Regions from separate parts of the Homo sapiens genome. Here region 2 is linked to region 1. Evidence: promoter capture Hi-C in human tissues and cell types (Jung and others, 2019). All regions are on one chromosome and are shown on one strand. Each heading gives the region's core, a stretch centred on a gene start or on the middle of the fragment in contact. The rest is flanking DNA. Distances are from core to core; before and after follow the strand shown.

The links. Contacts are between HindIII fragments. The study calls those that stand out against the background at their distance.
Region 2: a contact is called between a fragment that was not itself captured here and the fragment with the promoter of GABRA5 in region 1, in 1 of the 25 tissues and cell types used here (dorsolateral prefrontal cortex).

Annotation. Positions count from the first base shown.
Region 1 is chr15:26,864,738-26,868,601 of GRCh38, forward strand. It overlaps GABRA5 (gamma-aminobutyric acid type A receptor subunit alpha5), which reads left to right and starts at 2,325. Exons shown (of 11, transcript NM_000810.4): 1 at 2,325-2,374. The HindIII fragment of the contact is 20,920 bases long and covers 1-3,864 here.
Region 2 is chr15:26,624,573-26,628,322 of GRCh38, forward strand. The region is part of intron 3 of GABRB3 (gamma-aminobutyric acid type A receptor subunit beta3); the gene reads right to left. Among named protein-coding and RNA genes, the nearest start is that of GABRB3, 150 kb to the right of the region's middle. The HindIII fragment of the contact is 3,725 bases long and covers 1-3,270 here.

The sequences.
Region 1 (3,864 bases), core at 1,075-3,574:
GCAAACACAGCCACTGTCTCAGTTCCTGCCCCTGACCGGGGTACAGGGTGGGTGCTCTGTGAACACGTGTTCTACTCATGGCCCAGCTTCCCCACCTTCAGCTATTTTAGGCTCTGACACTGGAAATGAAATTCTTATGAAGCCCGGGCCAAGGCTGAGGTTGTGTGGAACTAGGGTGCCCTCTACTGTCTTCCACAACGATCACGACATTGCTTAATTTCATTCAATGAAGAGAAAATGCTAATGAAACAAATGGGAATTCAACGGATAGCCTATTATTTCTCAGCACAAATACAGAATTCTATAGTAAAACAAAAATCATTGAAATGGTAGTAAGCACTCTTCTAGCAATGTGAGTTTCTGTAAGGTTCTGATGGGCCTTACGATTTCACTGTCCCCTCAGGGCAGTCCATCTAAAGTGAGGCTATGTTATGTTACATAAACACTAGGAGGAGAGAGAGTGGCATACCGTTTCATTACAGGGAAGAGAAAAGAATTTAAGCAACATGCTGAAATACAATGTTAAAGAATGACTCTAACTTAAAATGATTTTTATATATTCAATAATATGTGTTGTGTGGACATAAAGCTGATAGAAAGTGTACCAAAAAAAGTGGAAGTTTTAAACATAATCCATCAAAAGAACATATTTCCTTACAGCTGACATTTCTTTTATTATTAAGAATTAATGTCTATAACCCTCGCTAATACAAAAATCATCCCTTGTTTATATACATTTATTTTTGCAAACTCACACCGAATGACTTTGTGTGACAAGCTGTGAAGTTTAAAATTTACCAATTCTTCCAACTCTTTGATTTGCATTATGCTGTTTAATCCTGAGAGAAGAGCAGCTGTCGCTGGTATTAGGTGTTAGAATTCCAACACCTAATAGGTGAAAATTATATTAGGCTGATCATAAAACCATGTTGTTAACTTTTTAAAATTTAATGTCTCCCAAGGAATTTCACCCTAGTGGTACATCTTTTGGGAAATTAGAAAATGAAGAAATGCATACGTTCAGTGATCCATTTTAGAATTAGAAAATTCAAATTAGCATCTTATTTCATTCATATTTCCTGAAGAACCACTGGAAACAGTTATTTAATAGTGTGGCTAAATGTATATTCAGAGAAACACTTCCTGTATATTTGCACATTTATGTATATTTATGTCCTATTCCTGGAATAGATTTACAAGTTTTGTTTTTCAGAAAATTTCAGAATTTCTGGAATGTGCAGAAGTATTAACAGGTAACTTAGATTTGGAATACACTGTATTAGAGATAACTGGAAAAATGAGAGGCTTCCTACACTGGAAGGTCAAAGATCTTTCCTGGAGGGGAGTTAGGAATTTGCCTTTACTTACCATTATTCTGTTAAAAGAGATTATGAATAATGCAGTTTCACAAAAGGAATGGGACAATGGTGTAAGTAAACCTCCCCATCACGTTTTCAGTGGCTTTCCTTTGAGTCTTGAACGTTTTCCACTGGGTGTTATAGTCGAGAGTCCCCCACCTCCTGAGGAAGCAAGACCTGGCAAACCCAAGACGATGCGCTCTTACTTGTGTTGTTTGAAGGGGCCCTGCTGCCGCGCAGTTGTCATTAATGCCACCCTCACCTCCCAGGAACTGCACCACTAGGACGGACGACACACCGACGTAATGACCATAGTAAGACCCCATGTACGTGGCTAATGAGGCAGTGACCCGACGTGGCTCGGAAGCCCTGCTGGGGAGATCCCGCCCCGTCACCCCAGAGGCGCTCTCCGACCTGCAGCCCCCAGGGCTCCTGGCCCTTTCCCGTTTGCCACTGCGGCTTGTTGTCAAGAAATGGAACTTCAGAAAACCCCCAGATATACACTGCGTTAGGTAAGGATTTCATTCTAATCGAGTCCAATGTGACCCTGGCTTTCCCTCCCGTAGTTATGCATTCCTGTCTATGAGTGAGATGAAAAGAATGTCCACAGGCCAGCTTCTTTCAGAAGCGCCTAAGAGATGCGCATGTAAGGGGTGCCATGGAGCACCCGGGAAGGACCCAGGCCTGGGCAGGGAGGCGTTGGGGCCGGCTCTAGGGAGCAAAGCTGTCGGAGTCCAGGCCTCTATCACCCGACTGCTGACACTGCCCTCCCATCCCTGCTCTACAAGCGGGCGGTGGTGACTACACGAGGCGCCGAAGATGCTGTTGAGGGCCCTGGAGAAACTTCAGCAGAACAGGGCCTCTCCCCTTGCAGGCCGAGCCGGGGGCCCTGCGCCCTCCCCCTCCGCCCAGCTCGGCCAAGGGCGCATTTGCTGAGCGTCTGGCGGCCTCTACCGGAGCACCTCTGCAGAGGGCCGATCCTCCAGCCCAGAGACGACATGTGGCGCTCGGGCGAGGTGAGAGCGGGCGCGAGTGCGCCGGGGGCGCTGGGGGGCTCTGCGGCGGGCGGCGCGCGGCCCGGGGCGCGGCGCGGAGCGGAGCTGCAGGGCGGCGGCGGGAGCGCGGGGCGCAAGAGCCGCTCCGCCGGGAGTGCCGGGGAAGTTCGCGCTGGCAGCATGGGGCGGTGACGCCGCACCGGCCTTCCGCGCCTGCCAGCCGGGCGAGAGCAGGCGGAGGAGAAGGAGGATGCATCCTCACCGACGGCTCGCCTCCCGGGGCCGGCGCGCAGGGTGAGCCCTGGGCGCGCTGGGCCGGGGCAGTGGGGTAAGAGGACGCGAGCGGGGAAGAGGACCGGCCGCCCCGGCTCGGTCCGCACCCTTCTCCTCGGGGCGCCTGAGCGGCAGGCTGCGTGGCCGGGGAGGAGAGGTGCAGAGCAGGCGGGGCGCGCAGCCAGGCCAGAGCGCAAACTTTACCCTGGCGACTGCGGGGCTGAAGCCGGGCGCGGGAGAGAGCGGGGTCCGGGCGGCTCATCCCTGCCGGACGGGGCACCAGGGCGCGGTGACCGGTTGGGGGTGGGGGACACCCGTTGCCACCATCACGGGAGCCGGAGGGGTGAGATCGCCCACCTGGAAAGCCAGCGTCAGCCCCGGGGCTCTGAGGCGCGCGGCGTCCCGGCGCTGCTCGCGGGGTGGACTCGGACCCCGCGGGGGTGTCGCGCGCGTGTCGCGCGGGCTGCTCGAGGCCAGGGGACTTGGAGTCGCTGCTGCACCGCGCGCTCCCAGCCCAGGAGGAAGGCGCTGCCTGGCGGAGCGCTTGGCTCGTACCCGGGGCAGGAGCAGGGGAAGTCTGCGAAAGCCGGGAGCGAGCCGGGGAGGGCCGGGGAGCTGGAGACCCTCGGCGTGCCGCTGCGGACCGCGCGGGTGGCGACCGCGGGTGCCAGGGCGACCCAGGCTGCGGCTCCGCAGTGCAGCCCCCGCGCCCACCTGCCCTGGCGCGCCGGCCCTGGTGAGCCTCTGTGGGGGTCCGGAGGGTCGTGGGAGCGCAGCCTCTCCTGGGGGTCCCTGGCTCGGGGCTGAGGGGCGGCGGGAGGCGCCGCCCGGGTTTCCCGCATGCAGCGCCGCGTGCTCGCCGCCTGGCTCTGGCCCGGGCCCCGCGACGAGCCCCCCGGACGCGCCCAGGCGACCACCGCATGGCACCCTGCCCTTCTTGGCAGGAGTCGCAGAAGGCCTTCGCTTCCGAGGTGGAAGTACCTGTTGTGTCTCCCAATTCCGGAGTTTGCGGGGGATGGGGGTTGGGGGGGCTTCTTGGGAAAATGCTTCTTTTCGAAGCATACTGTTCGGATGCCTGTGAGCACCTATTTGCGTTATGCGCATACTGAGAAATGCGTGTTTTCAGGAAGGTTAGTCGTTGAGCCCAGGGACAATGTCTGCCTGGATCTCAAATACATTAATTAGGGTCCAGCATTGAGTGGAGAGACTTCCACAGATGCAGTGCTTAAGTTATGTAG
Region 2 (3,750 bases), core at 158-2,657, 240 kb before region 1:
CTCTCAGTTTGGGTCTTGGGTGTCTGCTGAGGTGACTTGAGTAGACTAGTGGGTAAGAGCTTAGGTAACAGCAAGAGGGAAAAAACAGTATGAAAATCCAAACCCGCTGCATGTGATCAGCCATGTATGGCAAGGACTATCACATCAGTGGGGGCACAAATCAGTGTCCTCCTTTTTTTCTGGGATACTTACTAGCTGGCAACAAAGGGAAGGGGGTGGTGGAAAGGTCCAAGCCTCCCTCCACTCTCGTGCAGCCGGGAGTAGCAAATGCAGGGTTTTCCTGTTACGGGAGCCATGGTGCCGCTCCTTGTGACGTGCAGTGGTGAGCACTGAGCCAGGAACAGCGGGCAGCCGCTTGTGTGAGTGATCCTTCAGCAAACTCCACGCCCTGTGCTACCTAGAACCTCATTTAACTAGGAGGCAGGTATTATAATTATTATCCTATATCGATGAAGTAACAAAAATTGAAGAGCTGAAGTAACTCGCTCCTCATCCACTCCCTCCACTCCCTCAAACACTAGTAACCCGGGATAGTGGAACTTGAAGTTCGGGCCACCTCCTTTCAGGGCCTGGCTCTCAATGTGGAAGCTCCAAGGGATGGGAGCTAAACAGTTCCTCACAATAAAGTGGAGTGAGCTTGGCAGGGTGGGGCTTTGAAAGGATGTCTCTGAGCATGGAGAGTCAGGTCATGCAGGGGGGTTCTTCAGGGCAGTAATCAGAACCCCGGCACCACCAACTCCTCCTTCCACACCCAACCCATCGCCAAACATTTAGCACAGCTGCTATAGAAAGAAGCTTTGTAAAAGTATCCTTTTCTTCAATGCATCCCATACATCCCAGGGAAGTCACCAATTTTTACCTTTGCAATGATGTGGCATGAACCAAAGAGAAGAGCACAGTCACAAAGAGATGGAATTTGCATGGGATGGAGAGTCTGTCAGAGTTTTGAATTCCAAGCCTGTCTGCAGAAACAGAAGATACTTTGAGACTTTAAAAGCTCCAAGGATTAAAGGAATAGCAGAGGGGACACTGGATTCCTCACAGAACATGAAATGGAAATTAAGCCTTTGTTCTTTAACCTTAATGCTCGAGGTGGACTCAGGTGACGTCTGGGTACAAAAATAAGAAATGACTGGGAAGGGTGGAGCTTCTCAAAGAACAGCCAAGCTGGCCACTCTGCGGCAGGGTGGATCCCTGTTGCTATGGTTCCTGCTGGCTGACAAGGGGCTGGGGAGGTAGCAGTAGACACCAAATGAGACAGACTGTTGATATCGTTTACAGAAGCAGCCCGCGTCCTCCACCAATTGAGTTGCTAACGTTCCCTCTTTTGCCAGACCCCCAGGCTGCACAAGAAACTATCTGTATCATTAGATACACGCCTGCCTTACTTTACTGTGCTTCACAGATACTGCATTTTTAACAATTTGAAGGTTTGTGGCAACCCAGCGTTGAGCATGTAAGTTGAACAACACTGTTTTTCCAACAGCATATGCTCACTTCATGTCTCTGGGTCATATTTTGGTAATTTTCACAAGATTTCAATCTTAGTATTTCATTACTTTTATATTGGTTATGGTGACCTATAATCAGTGATATTTGATATTACTATTATTATCACTCTGGGGCACCAGGAATAGCACCCATATAAGATGGCAAACTTATCGTACAAATGTTGTGTGTCCTCTGACTGATCTACCAACTGACCCTTAACCCTGTATCTCTCCCTCTCCTTGGGCCTCCCTATTCCCTGAGACACAACAATATCAACATTAGGCCAGTTAGTAGCCCTCCAATGGCCTCTAAGGGTTTAAGTGAAAGGAAGAGTCGCCCATCTCTCATGGTAAATGAAAAACCAGAAATGATTAAGCTTAGTGAGGGAGGCAGGTCAAATGATTGATGTGCAAAAGATTTTTATAGGCCCAAAGTTAGGCCTTTTCTACCAGTTAGCCCAATTGTGAATGCAAAGAAAAAGTTTTAGTAGGAAATTAAAAGTGCTACTCTGGGGAATGATAAGAAAGTCCAACAGCCTTACTGCTGATATTGATAGAATATCAAACCAGCCATAACGTTCCCTTAAGTCAAAGTTTAATCTGGAGTAAAATCCTGACTCTCTTCAATTCTGTGAAGGCTGAAAGAGTTAGGGCAGCTGCAGAAGAAAAGTTAGAAGATAGGAGAGATTGGTTCATGAGGTTTAAGCAACGAAGCCATTTCCATAACATAAAAGTGCAAGGTGAAGCAGCAAGTGCTGATGGAGAAGCTGCAGCAAGTTATCCAGAAGATCCCGCTAAAATCACTGATGAAGGTGGTTACACTAAACAACAGGTTTTCAGAGTAGACTTTGGAAGAAGTCTTTTCTAATGGAAGAAGAGGCCATGTCGGACTTTCATAGCAAAAGAGAAGAAGTCATTGTCTGGCTTCGGAGCTTCAAATGACAGGCTGACTCTCTTGCTAGGGGCTAATTGCAGCTGCTGACTTTAAGTTGAAGCCAATGCTCACCCACCATTTTGAAAATCCCAGGGCCCTTAAGAATTCTGCTAATCTACTCCGCCTATGCTCAAAAAATCCAACAATAAAACCTGGGTGTCAACACGTTTACAAAACTGAATATTTTTAACCCACAGTTGAGACCTTCTGCTCAGAAAAAACATTCCTTTCAAAATGTTACTGCTCATTTTCAATGTACCTGGTCACTCAAGAGCTCTAATGGATATGTACAAAGAGATGAATGTTGTTTTCATGTCTGCTAACACAACATCCATTCTACAGCCCATAGATCAAGGAGAAACTGACTTTCAAGTTTTATTATTTAAGAAATACATTTCACAAGGCTGTAGCTGCCATAGACAGTGATTATTTTTACGGATCTGGGCAAAGTAAACTGAAAACATTCTGGAAAGGACTAGATGTCATTCTAGATGTCAGTAAGAACATTCATGATTTATAGGAGGAGGTCAAAATATCAACACCAAGAGGAGTTTGGAAGATGTGGATTCCAGCCCTCATGGATGACTTTGAGGGGTTCAAGTCATTGCAGATGTGGTGGGAATAGCAACAGAACTAGAAGTGAAACTTGAAGATTTCCCTGAATTTCTGGAATCTCATGATTAAACTTGAATGAATGAGGAGTTGCTTCCTATGGATGAGCAAAGAGTGGTTTCTTGAGATGGAATCTACTCCTGGTGAGGATGTTGTGAACATTGTTGCAATGACAACAAAGGATTTAGAAGATTACATAAACTTAGTTGATAAAGCAGTGGCAGGGTTTGAGAGGACTGACTTCAATTTTGGAAGAAGTTCTACTCTGGGTAAAATGCTATCAAACAGCATCCAATGCTACAGAGAAATCTTTCATGAAAGGAATAGCCAAAGTAATAAATTTCATTGTTGTCTTAAACTGCCACAGCTTTCAGCAACCACCACCCTGATCAGCCAGCAGCCATCAACACTGAGGCAAGACCCTCCACCAGCAAAAAGATCATGACTCACTGAAGGCTCAGATGATTGTTAGCACTTTCAGCAATACAGTATTTTCAATTAAGGTATGTATATTTTATAGACATAATGTTATTGGACAATTAATAGACTACAATGTAGTATAAACATAACTTTTATATATCTTGGGAAACCAAAAAATTTGTGACTCACTTCATGATATTTGCTTTACAGCAATGGTCTGGAACAGAACCTGCAGTATCTCTGAGGGTGTGCCTGTATTTACTCAGTTATTCAGCAAATGTTTATTGAGTGCTT